Linked DNA regions of Homo sapiens: all the other regions are linked to region 1. The links are contacts of gene promoters, found by promoter capture Hi-C in blood cells and fetal thymus (Javierre and others, 2016). All regions are on one chromosome and are shown on one strand. The core of a region is centred on a gene start or on the middle of the fragment in contact, and the rest is flanking DNA. Distances in the headings are between cores, read along the strand shown. Region 1 holds the start of COQ7 (coenzyme Q7, hydroxylase). Region 2 overlaps RRN3 (RNA polymerase I transcription factor RRN3). Region 3 overlaps USP31 (ubiquitin specific peptidase 31).

Region 1 (3,771 bases), core at 30-2,529:
TAATGATTACTCACCCATTTGTGGCAAGTGGCACTGGCTTCCCATTCACCATAAGGATTTTGTTTCAAGGAAATTAATTTAATTTTTAAATGGGACATAGCTATACAAAAAAACACATCTAGTAATCAAAAGTTCAAGCAGTACTGCCATTAGGCAAAAATCCCGAAAGTGGTACACGGTAATTTAACGTTGAGAAAACGACTTCATGAAATTTCTTTTTTTTTTTTTTTTTTGCGCGGGGGAGACAAAGTCTCGCTCTGACGCCCAGGTTGCAGTGCAGTGGTGCAATCTCGCCTCAAAGCAATCTCTGCCTCCCGGGTTCAAGCGATTCTCCTGTCTCAGCCTCCTGAGTAGCTGGGATTACAGGCACCTGCCATCACGCCTGGCAAATTTTTGTATTTTTAGTAGAGGCGGGGTTTCACCATGTTGGCCAGGCTGGTCTCAAACTCCTGACCTCAGGGGATCCTCCAGCCTCGGCCTCCCAAAGTGCTGAGATTATAGGCCGGAGCCACCGCGCCCGGGCTCATGACAATTTTCTAAGGCAGCACAGATGAAACAAGGAAAGCAGGAACCAGGGTCCAAAACCATGTCTCTCTACTCTAAATTCGATGCTCCTTCCACTACACTGATGGCTTTCACAGTTTACAGTGCATGCAAATCACCTAAAGGTCCTGTTCACAGATCACAGATACCGACCAAGTAGGTCGGGGTGGGGCCCGAGAATCTGTATTTCTAGCGAGCGCCCAGAAGTAGCGGAGGCTGCTGGTCGTCGGGCTACCCTTTGCCTGGCAAGGCCCTGGGCAAAGACTACAAAGAGAGAGACTCCCGGAGACGCTGAATTTTCAGTGTCGCCAACTGTCCTCGACTCGGAACGCTGGCCGCACCTGCCGTGACATCACTGCACAGGGGTGCAATTGCGTCACTCCCCAGGCGTCACTGCCGAAACAACCCCTGTCCTCCTGTCACTCTCGCCGCTAACTACAGACCCCGCCCCGCCCGCCAGCGCCCCGGAGGCCGAAGTCACGCAGTCGCGCTCCGTCGCAGGCCTGTGACGTTACGAACCTCTCCCCCGTGACCTCTTCGACCCAAACCTCAAGCGAAAATTCCCTAGCTCGCTAGACCGGCGCAGGACTGTGACTGCGCGCCTCCTTTTACCTGAGAGGGACCGCCGGGCCCCCGGGCGCAGCCGCCAAAGGCGGGGAGCCGCCGCCGCCCCGGCGCAACTCATTGCCGGAACTAAAAAAAGCAACCACTTCGTTGAACGGAACTGGCCAATAGTGCCCTTGGCTCGGACTGATGACGCACAGCAGACGTAAGGAAGGCTCAGCTCGCCCGCGCACCGGTGGGAACGCCCCCTAGCTCTGCGCTAGGGGTTAGATTGGTTAGATACGACAAATAAAAAGATTTTATTGGGTGGGGTCACTGTCAATCACTCGGAAGACCAAGGCCAAGGCGCCTTGGGTTGCCAGGGAGATGAAAATGCTAAATTGCTGTTTAGAAAGATCAGGACAAGGTTATGATTTCTCACCCAAGTTCCTGGGGAAAAGGATCATGAGGGAATTACTTATTAACAAGGCACGGTATTTCCTGCTTTACCTACGTGGAAGGAGATTTTTTTTTTTATTTGTATCCTACATCTACTTTAAAATAGTAAGCCTGGGCAACATAGCGAGACCCCGCCTCTACAAATAATTTTAAAAATTAGCCGGGTCTGGTGGAGCACACCTGTAGTCCCAGCTACTCGGGAGGCTGAGGTGGGGGGATAGCTTGAGCCCGGTAGCTCGAGGCTGCAGTCAGCCGTGATTCTGCCACTGCACTCTAGCCTGGGCCCTGTCTGAAAAATAAATAAATAAATAAAATTATATGTATATCTAAATTACATGCACCACATGGTTAATGGTGTTATATAGTGTTATCTCTATTGGTGGGCTGAAAGCCAACTTTAAACTTCTTCCCGGTCTTTTCTCTATTTTCAGAAACAGAGAACATGTTTTATCCTTGGTATCCACCTTAATGTACTGTGTGCATGTATGCATGTATATTTGTGCAAATTGGAATTTTTTGAGAAGGGAGGGGAAATTTAGCAACATACTTTAAAAAGATCATATAATACAGCAGTCTTACTTTTAGGAATCTACTCAACGAAATAATTTTTAAATGAGTAATGTACATGAGGGCAAAAATCAAAGATGCGTGTCTGCAAGGATATACAACGTTTAATATTGGCAACATCAGGGGGCTGGAACTGGGAGAAGGGAGCTTTCACTTTCTACTTTACACCCTTGGATTATTTATATACTTTATCCAAGTTTACCATAAAATATTTTAAGATGGAATACAATTGTAAAATTATTGAATTCAAGTTTTTAGTTTTTATATCACTCTAGTGTTCAAATTGACACACCAAAATAATTTAAAATTATGATGAACCCAAATACTACTTAGTGAGGATGTTGTAGCACTCTCATGTAAAACTACTGAGTGTCTGAATCTGGCGCTCAAAAGCCTTAAAATGTTCAAAACCTTTGCTGTAATACCACTTCTAGGTCTCTGTTTCCTTTTTGTTTTGTTTTTTGTTTTTGTTCTTTTTAAATGGAGTTTCACTCTGTCGCACAGGCTGGATTGCAGTGGGGAGACCTTGGCTCACTGGAACCTCTGCCTCCCGGGTTCAAGCGATTCTCCTGCCTCAGCCTCCCAAGTAGATGGGATTACAGGTACACACACCACCACGCCCAGCTGAGACTGGGTTTCGCTGTGTTGGCCAGGCTGGTCTCAAATTCCTGACCTCAAGTGATCCTCCCACCTTGTCCTCCCAAAGTGCTGGGATTATAGGCGTGAGCCGCCACGCCTGGCCTAGGTCTCTGTTTCTAAGGAGAAAAAATGTTGACAAAGATTTATAGATGTGCCCATTATTTATTACTGGGAAAATTTGGAAACAAAATGTTAAGCAACAATTGAATATCAAAACATCATGTCCGAGTGCAGTGGCTCACGCCTGTAATCCCAACACTTTGGGAGACTGAGGCGAGAGGATCACTTGAGCCCAGGAGTTCAAGACCAGCCTGGGCAACACAGTGAGATTCCATCTCTACAAAAAATTTTAAAAATTAGTCAGGCATGGTGGTGTGTGCCTCTGATCCCACCTACTTGTGAGGCTAAAAGGATCACTTGAGCCCAGGAGGTTGAGGCTGCACTGAGCCATGATCACACCACTGCACTCCAGAGTGGGTGATAGACCTAGACTCTGGCTCAAAAAAAAAAAAAAAAATCCAACTGTATGATGTTATGTAGCCCATTGAAATGTTTGTAAAGAGCTTTTAATAACAGGAGAAAACACTAGATTCTTCAGGAAAACACATATTAAGTGAAAAAGAAATTAGAATACCAAAGTTCTTTCCTTCTTTTTCCTTCTTTTTCCCTCCCTCTGTACTTTCTATCTTAAAAAGAATTTTGCCAGGATTAACAGTGCGTGCCCATAAGTGCTGCTTTTTAAGTTTTTTTCTCTGTTGCTTTTGATGTTCTCTGTATTTGCTATAAAAAACAAGTATTTTTATAATGGCAAAACAAAATTTAAAAAACAAAAATGCATACTATTCCCTAATTCCATCCCCCTACCCACCAAATTATCCATTAAAAAAACTAGTTCCAGCCAGGCACGGAGGCTCACCCCTGTAATCCCAGACTTTGGGAGGCCGAAGTGGAAGGATCACTTGAGGTCAGCAGTTCAAGACCAGCCTGACCAACAGGGCAAAACCCCATCTCTACTAAAAG
Region 2 (3,498 bases), core at 300-2,799, 4.0 Mb after region 1:
GCATCGCACATTCGGCTTGGTGAAATCCTTCTCTAAAGCCTCTTTTTGTATTTTTATAACTAAACAGAGGAAGTCTTCAGAAGACCTCGCTTTAAAACAAATTTGTGCAAACACTGCTAGAGTCATTTTGAAGCTCAAGCATTTTCACTTTGTTTCTTACATGTGTACTTTTTTGTTTACTTGTGAAAATGGCCATCTTTAAGCATATTTATTTTCTGCCACTTTATTTAAAGGCAAGCAATATTTTCTTGATCATAAATATTTTGTAATGAAATACTTCCTCTTTTCCAGGGCTTTGTATGCACTTGTATAATTACATTGATGGCAATGTAGAGTTTGAATTTCAGTCTGTAAATACTTTTTTGGAAAATAGAAATTTTTATTGCTTTAAAGTTTTGGATATGGGTGGTTTTCTTTTCCGGGTTTGGTGGAAAGTAATTTGAGAACTTTAAGGTTGTCTTTTTAACTGCTGGCAAAATGTTGATTTTTTAATATTAGATAAAACGAGTAAACGAAATTCCCCAGAAATTAGTAGTAAGTGGGGTCTTTGTGGGTTGGGAAGTAGTTTTAATGTAGAAAGACATTTACATATAAGTCTGTTTAATTTCAAAGGAGTTTGTGAAAAAAAATCCATGGTGAAAATGAAACAATGACATGGTTAATCTGGAACTTACGTTCTTATACCAATAAAAGGTACCTCAATACATGTTCTTTCAATTTCTGTTTTGTTTTTTTTTTTTTAATTTAATGTATTAAAGCATTTTGCAGTGGAAAACTCCTGAGGCATTGCTGTTGAAGAGGGAGAAATAGTGCTGGTGTGGCGGGGAGCTTGATGGAATTCATTGCATGCCGGGGTGAGGATGGTTTCCGTGTGCACTATATGAAGTATCCGCGACTCTCCTTAATCACACCCAGCAAAGAGTGATTGAGGCTTGAGCAGGTCCAAGGGAAGCAGACACTTCTTTCAAAAAGTTACATGCTTTGAAGGGACATCTATGGGGAAAAATACTGTGAAATCTCCTTATAAATTACATGCCAACAATGGGAATTTTTCCTTTCACTAAAAAGCTGTCAGTTGTAGGAGTCTCCAGGGTCTGTCCTTTTGTCTGTGTGCTCTGGTTTGGTCTTCCTTGATGAGAAGTGGCTGAATTTTTACAAGTCAACTTACCAAGTGCCATGGGCTTCCTTTCCTAGCTAGCTGTTTGACGTTGAGCAAGTTACCTAACCTCTCTGAGCGCTAATTAAACTGTAAAATGGGAATAAGATACTAGTGTAAGGCTTTAAGGATTCGATGCATGTACAAGTTAATGGCTGTTGTTTTCTTGCAAGAAAGGAAGCACTTCCATGGGAAGTTTTTTTTGGTTAAAGATAACTTCTATTTCTTCCATAATACCTACCTCCCTGGTACCAACTTAGATCTGAACTGGAGAGGAGGAACCAGCGTGTTTCCCTTGCCGGGCAGTGCTTACGATGGTGGTTCTTAACCCTGGCTGTGCCCTAGAATCAGTCCCTTGGAGTGCTGAGAAACTAAGGATGCCCAGGCTCACGTCACACACCAACTCAACCTTTGATTGAATCAGTCTCCAGAAGAGGGGTCTGGACATGGATGGTTTTTAAAGCCCCCTGGTGATTCGAAGGTGCAGGCTGCCTTGAGAACTGTTCATTGGTGTACAACTGCATACTTTTCTTGTTTCAACTAATTGAACATCCAAAGCTCCACCATGTTTTCTTCCATCAAATGCTTTTGTGTGTTTCAGTCTGACTCTGGATGGTTGAGTAGGATTTATAATGTATCTAATAATTTGGGGCCAGGTGTGGTAGCTCATGCCTGTAATCTGAGCACTTGGGGAGGCCAGCAAAAGGATCTCTTGAAGCCAGGAGTTTGAGATCAGCTGGGGCAACATAGTGAGACCCCCATCTCTACATTAAAAAATTTGAAACACAAATTGGGATCCTTTCACTAAATATTTACTAAGGTTCTGTATAATGTTCATCATTCTTTTTTTTGAGACAAGAGTCTCACTCTGTCACCCAGGCTGGAGTGCAGTGGTGCAATCACAGCTCAACAACTGCAACCTCCGCCTCCTGGGCTCAAGTGATCCGCCCACCTCAGTCTCCTGAGTAGCTGGGACTACAGGTACGCACCACCATGCCTGGCTAATTTTTGTATTTTTAGTAGAGATGGAGTTTCACTATGTTGGCCAGGCTGGTCTTGAACTCCTAACCTCAAGCAATCTGTCCGCCTCGGCCTCCCAAAGTGCTGGGATTACAGGCGTGAGCCACCATGTCTGGCCTCAAAAAAGTGTAATTTAAAAAATATTTCCCTGTATATATTCTTTGAACTTTGCCATCAGCCATCTTGTGAGGCAGGTTGGTTTCCTATCTTAAAGAAACAGGCTTTCCAACATTGTAATTAGTGCTTTCTTTTTCTTTTTCTTTTTTTTTTGAGACGGTCTTGCTGTAATCACCCAGGCAGGAGTGCAGTGGCACAGTCGTGCCTCATTGCAGCCTTGACCTCTAGGGCTTGATTGATCCTCCCGAGTAGCTGGGACTACAGGCCTGCCACCATGCCCAGCTAATTTTTGTATTTGTTGGAGAAGCAGGGATCCCTGTGTTGTCCAGGCTCGTCTCGAACTTCTGGGCTCAAGTGAGTCCTCCTTCGGCCTTTCAAAGTGCTGGGGTTACAGGCATGAGCCGCAGTGCTGGCCACACACCTGCTATTGCTTCCTCATTGCCTGTAGACCAAAATTTGTGGAGCTGGGTGGGAAGAGAGGTAGGGGAGTGGTTTCCTGCTTGTTATCTGGCTCATTTAGTCCTTTAACACAGTACTCAGCCTAGGAGATTGATAACCTGAGATTACTTGAAAAAAGATCACCCAAAAGTGAAAAACCAGTTAGGCAAACTGCACCAGCCCCAGGCAGAACCCACAGAACCTTGTTCTTCACCTTTGCACTTCCAAATGCCTCACTTTGATTGACTACTCTTTGCTCTGCAATTCCAATAATAGCTATCTTTAGTGTTTAGTATGTACCAGGTGAAACAAACATGCTATTCTACAAAACCAGTTCAGGGAAGTTAAGTAACTTGCTCCAGGCCAGCCTGCTGGTCATTGATCACCCTGGTTTCAAACCCTGTTTTTAGCTCCGAGCTTCCTAGTTGGGACTTACTTAATGTCACCTGCATTAGAATGAGTTGTTTACAGTACAGTCTAGGAGCATCTTATAGTGATGGAGAGCACTGCCTTTGGAATCATGCAAAGCTAGGTTCAGTCTTCGTTCTACTACTTATTTCTACCACTTTGAGCAAGTTACTGTATCTGTTATAACGGAGGTGTTGATAGTAGCTCCTACATTTGTGAGGACAAATGACAAATGAGGTGTTGATAGTAGCTCCTACATTTGTAAGGACAAATGAGAAATGTAGGTGTAATAATACAGAGAAATAATTTCCTGGTAGCTAGAAATAGAGTTATTTTGGGTGAGAAGTTGGGTAACCTGG
Region 3 (3,769 bases), core at 965-3,464, 4.1 Mb before region 1:
CTTTGTTAAGGTCCTGCTTTCTTGCTGACGAACTACATGGCCAGTGTGCATCTCTCCCCGTTTAATACTTTTTACTTACATCTTATGCTGCTCAATGCTGTTTTTCTTGGAAAAAAATCGTTGCTGTTTGATCTTGGCAATTTGAATGGAAGTACTTGACTGAGATAGGGACTGGAAAAAAAGATCTATGTCAGTGATCTCAAAATTATTATTATTATTATTATTTTTGAGATGGAGTCTCACTCTGTCGCCCAGGCTGGAGGGCAGTGGCCTGATCTCGGCCCACTGCAACCTCTGCCTCCTGTGTTCAATCAAGCAATTCTCCTGTCTCAGCCTCCCAGGTAGCTGGGACTACAGGCGCCCGCTACATGCCCAGTTAATTTTTGATCCACCTGCCTCGGCCTCCCCAAGTGCTGAGATTACAGGCGTGAGCCACCGTGCCCAGCTGAGATCTCAAAATTAGAAAGGGAGAATGATCAGGAGAACTGACTACTGTAGGTCCACCCCCCGCCCCCCACCCCACACTGCCCCTCTTTGCTTACAATTGCCTGTAAGTAGCCACAGCATTTGTAAACTTTTCGAGGTCAGAGCCTAGTATTTAAGTTTGGTTTTCTCCTCTTTTCCAAAATGTGAAAATCAGTTTCTACAGCATCTTTGTATGTGAACATTTCCATTGCTTTTTATGAGTTTGTGTTCACTTTTTTATCCATTAAGCTGTGAACAGAAATGGGTCAATAATTCTAGAAGTACAGAGACTGATTTATAGGCATGCTTTGGCAGACATGAACAGATTCTTAGAGGCCTGGCTTTTTAAAAGTAATCTCCTGAACCTTTAGTAGGTTTCACTCTACATTCATTCATTCACCTCCCATTTATTGAAGGCTTACTTAATCAGTTAGGAATGCCTTCAGCCCAAGAAAGGAAAATCCCTAATGATAGTGCCTTAAGCAATGAAAACGTTGCAATTGGCAATTGGCACACACAGTGATTCCGGAGGTGGATGGTTCTATGGTTCAGTGGCTCGTTGGGCCCAACAAGGATTCAGACCATTTCTGTATTTCCACCTGTTGTCTTTTTAGCTATCATTGGCTTTTTGTTCTTAGGTTTGTCACCTCATGGTTGTCCAGTGATGGCAGCCACTGCACCTGGCATTCTACCCAGGACGGCAGGAAGTCATTAGGGAAATAAAAATTCTTCCAGAAGCCCCCTCAGCAGGCTTCTGCTGATATTTCATTGGCTATAACCATGTCAATTGGCTGTCACGGAGGCTGGAGGGTGGGCATTTGGGTTTTCCTGTCTTCACAGAGGAGATGAGTAAAGGAGGGGTTTACCTCCCAGGGAGCTATGAAGAGCTGAGTCGAGTAGGATCTAGGAAGTTCCCTGAGACAGCGCTTCTCATGCGTCAGTGTGCACATAATTCACCTGGGGATCTTGCTACAAAGGAAATTGAGATTCGGTAGAGCTGGAGCGGTGCCCAAGATTCTGCATTTCTAACAAGCTCCCTGGTGATGCCAGTGCTTTTGGCTCAAGGACCATCCTGTGTATAGCAGGCATCAAGGAACAAGGAAAGCATTACCAAAAAGGTGGCTCCTGAGCAGTGTTCTGAAAGATGAATAGAAATTTGCAGGGCAAGGAAGTGGTGGAGTTGCATGAAAGGGCGTGTGGTTTTGGGGAATAGACATTTAGTGGCTGGCTGCACCATAGAGAGCAGTGGGGGTGCAGGAAGCCTGGGAGAAGAGTGTTGGAAACTCACTGTGAAGGGCTTCGTGAGCTATGCTGGTTTGGATTTCATCCTCTGCAAGTTGAAAATCCAGAGGTGATTTTTAAGCAAGGAAGTGATATAATTAGATTCTTTTCCCCTTTTTATTCCCCCGGTTAGGTAACTCTGGCAAATTGATTACTTTTTAAAAAAAGGTTTTATTTTAGCTAAATTTGATGGGTATTATTTTGAATATAAAGAAAGTTGAATGCTAAGGCAGGACGCAGTGGCTCATGTCTGTAATCCCGGCACTTTGGGAGGCCAAGGTGGGTGGATCACTTGAGACCAATAGTTCCAGACCAGCCTGGACAACATGGTGAAACCCCATCTCTACTAAAAAAATACAAAAAGTAGCCGAGCGTGGTGGCACACACCTGTAATCCCAGCTACTCGGGAGGCTGAGGCACGAGAATCTCTTGAACCCAGGAGGTGGAGGTTGCAGTGAGCAGAGATCATGTCACTGCGCTCCAGCCTGGGTGACAGAGTGAGACTCTGCCTCAAAAAAAGGAAAAAAAAAAAAGAAAGGTAAACACCAGAAGGTGGACCTGAGGCATACCTCACTGTGCTTCGCCTGCTTGGGGTGGACATCGTTATTTCATTCAGATATTCTTCACTTTCACATCGCTCACATTCAGCCTTAGAATCCTGCTCAGTTCTAGAAGGGCTCCAGGCAGCCACCACCACCTAGTTGAAGTTGGCAGAGGAGATAAAACCAATTTGCCATCTTGAGATAGTTACCTTGAGGTTAGAAAAGCACTTACTATGTCTTTGTGCTTTTATTATCTTAAAACTTTAAGTTACTAATGCTTTTCTTTGTAAGTTTTTCAATTAGAGTTCTTTCTTCCTTTTTAACCACATTGATTTGAGTTTTAGGAGCTTGCCAAGTAGATGGTTTTTGGTTTTGGATGGGCTAGATGGTTGTTAAAGTTGGGTTTTCATTTCCCAGGATGAAATGAGTTGACTAGCTCAACCTTGATATGCTGTAAAAAATGTCTCTAGCCATTACCTTTATCCTTTCTCTTTTCACACAGATTTTTTGTTTGTTTGTTTCCTACTCTTAGAGCACTGGTTTTCAACACGGGCACTTTTGCCTGTCCTCACCCCACCCTGCCCCCACCCCCTGGGACATTTGTCGATGTCTGGAACCCTACTTGGTTGTCACAGCTGGGATCAGGGTGCTACTGGCATGTGGTGGTAGATTCCAGGGATGCTGCTAAATGTCACACAATGTGCAGGACAGCCCCCCTTACTAAAGGGTTTTCACCCCAAAGTGTCAGTAGTGCTGAGGCTGAGAAACTGTTTGGAGGAAAGTTTGGAGACTCAGCGCAAGTTTCCTTTTACTTCCCCAGCCTTTAAAATGGTTACCTTGTTATCTCTCGCGCTCTCTCTTTCTCTCTCTCTCCCCCCCCCCAACCTCTCCCTCTCTCTTTCTCCTTCTCTGTCTCTGAGTGTGTATATGTGTTTGCAGCAGCACTAGGGTAAAACTTGGGCTTCACTGGCAGGACCCTTGCATCACTTTCCTAGTAAAATAGTGAGAGTAAATAAATCACTTTGAATACATAATATGCCATTTTAAAGGGAATCAGCTTATTGCTTTCATAGGAGCATGGGTGCCCCAGATTCTTACAAATGCTTTCTGAGTTTTAGAGCTCAGAGCCGTTTTGCAGCAAGTAAAAAGATGGATGGTCATCTTTCAAGCAAGAAAGATAAATTTTATGGCAGCAGTTTTTAAATTGTGCTGGCAAAGAACAGCTAGCACAGAGTGATCTATTGATAAAAGAATTGTGGGGACTCCTTCCAGATTTGCAGTGAAACAAATGGTAATTGATGAATAGAATTCTCTCTCCCATTTTTTTTTCCTTGAACTTTGGTGCCTTGTGGTGCTTATTTATTAGTGAGAATTCTCAAGTCACAAAAGGAATAAACTTGTATAAGAGACTAGTGGTGAACAACCTGGCAATCAGAGGCTCACACTTGCTGAGTTTCCCAGCCTGCTTTTCCATGCACTCA

The links. Contacts are between HindIII fragments. The CHiCAGO score rates a contact against its expected background, and 5 or more counts as called.
Region 2: a contact is called between a fragment that was not itself captured here and the fragment with the promoter of COQ7 in region 1, in 1 of 17 cell types (neutrophils). The highest score is 5.3, in neutrophils.
Region 3: a contact is called between a fragment that was not itself captured here and the fragment with the promoter of COQ7 in region 1, in 1 of 17 cell types (total CD4 T cells). The highest score is 7.2, in total CD4 T cells.

The regions. Positions count from the first base shown.
Region 1 is chr16:19,065,122-19,068,892 of GRCh38, reverse strand. COQ7 (coenzyme Q7, hydroxylase) reads right to left here and starts at 1,279. Exons shown (of 6, transcript NM_016138.5): 1 at 1,156-1,279. The coding sequence starts at 1,228. COQ7-DT (COQ7 divergent transcript) reads left to right here and starts at 1,202. Exons shown (of 3, transcript NR_119381.1): 1 at 1,202-1,312. RefSeq lists an enhancer at 916-1,065 and a silencer at 1,096-1,255. The HindIII fragment of the contact is 11,366 bases long and covers 1-3,771 here.
Region 2 is chr16:15,057,241-15,060,738 of GRCh38, reverse strand. RRN3 (RNA polymerase I transcription factor RRN3) reads left to right here. Exons shown (of 18, transcript NM_018427.5): 18 at 1-706. It also overlaps a transcript of PDXDC1 not described here. Among named protein-coding and RNA genes, the nearest start is that of NTAN1, 2.9 kb to the right of the region's middle. The HindIII fragment of the contact is 5,530 bases long and covers 1-3,498 here.
Region 3 is chr16:23,142,987-23,146,755 of GRCh38, reverse strand. All of the region lies in intron 1 of USP31 (ubiquitin specific peptidase 31), which reads left to right. Among named protein-coding and RNA genes, the nearest start is that of USP31, 4.6 kb to the left of the region's middle. The HindIII fragment of the contact is 4,574 bases long and covers 1-3,769 here.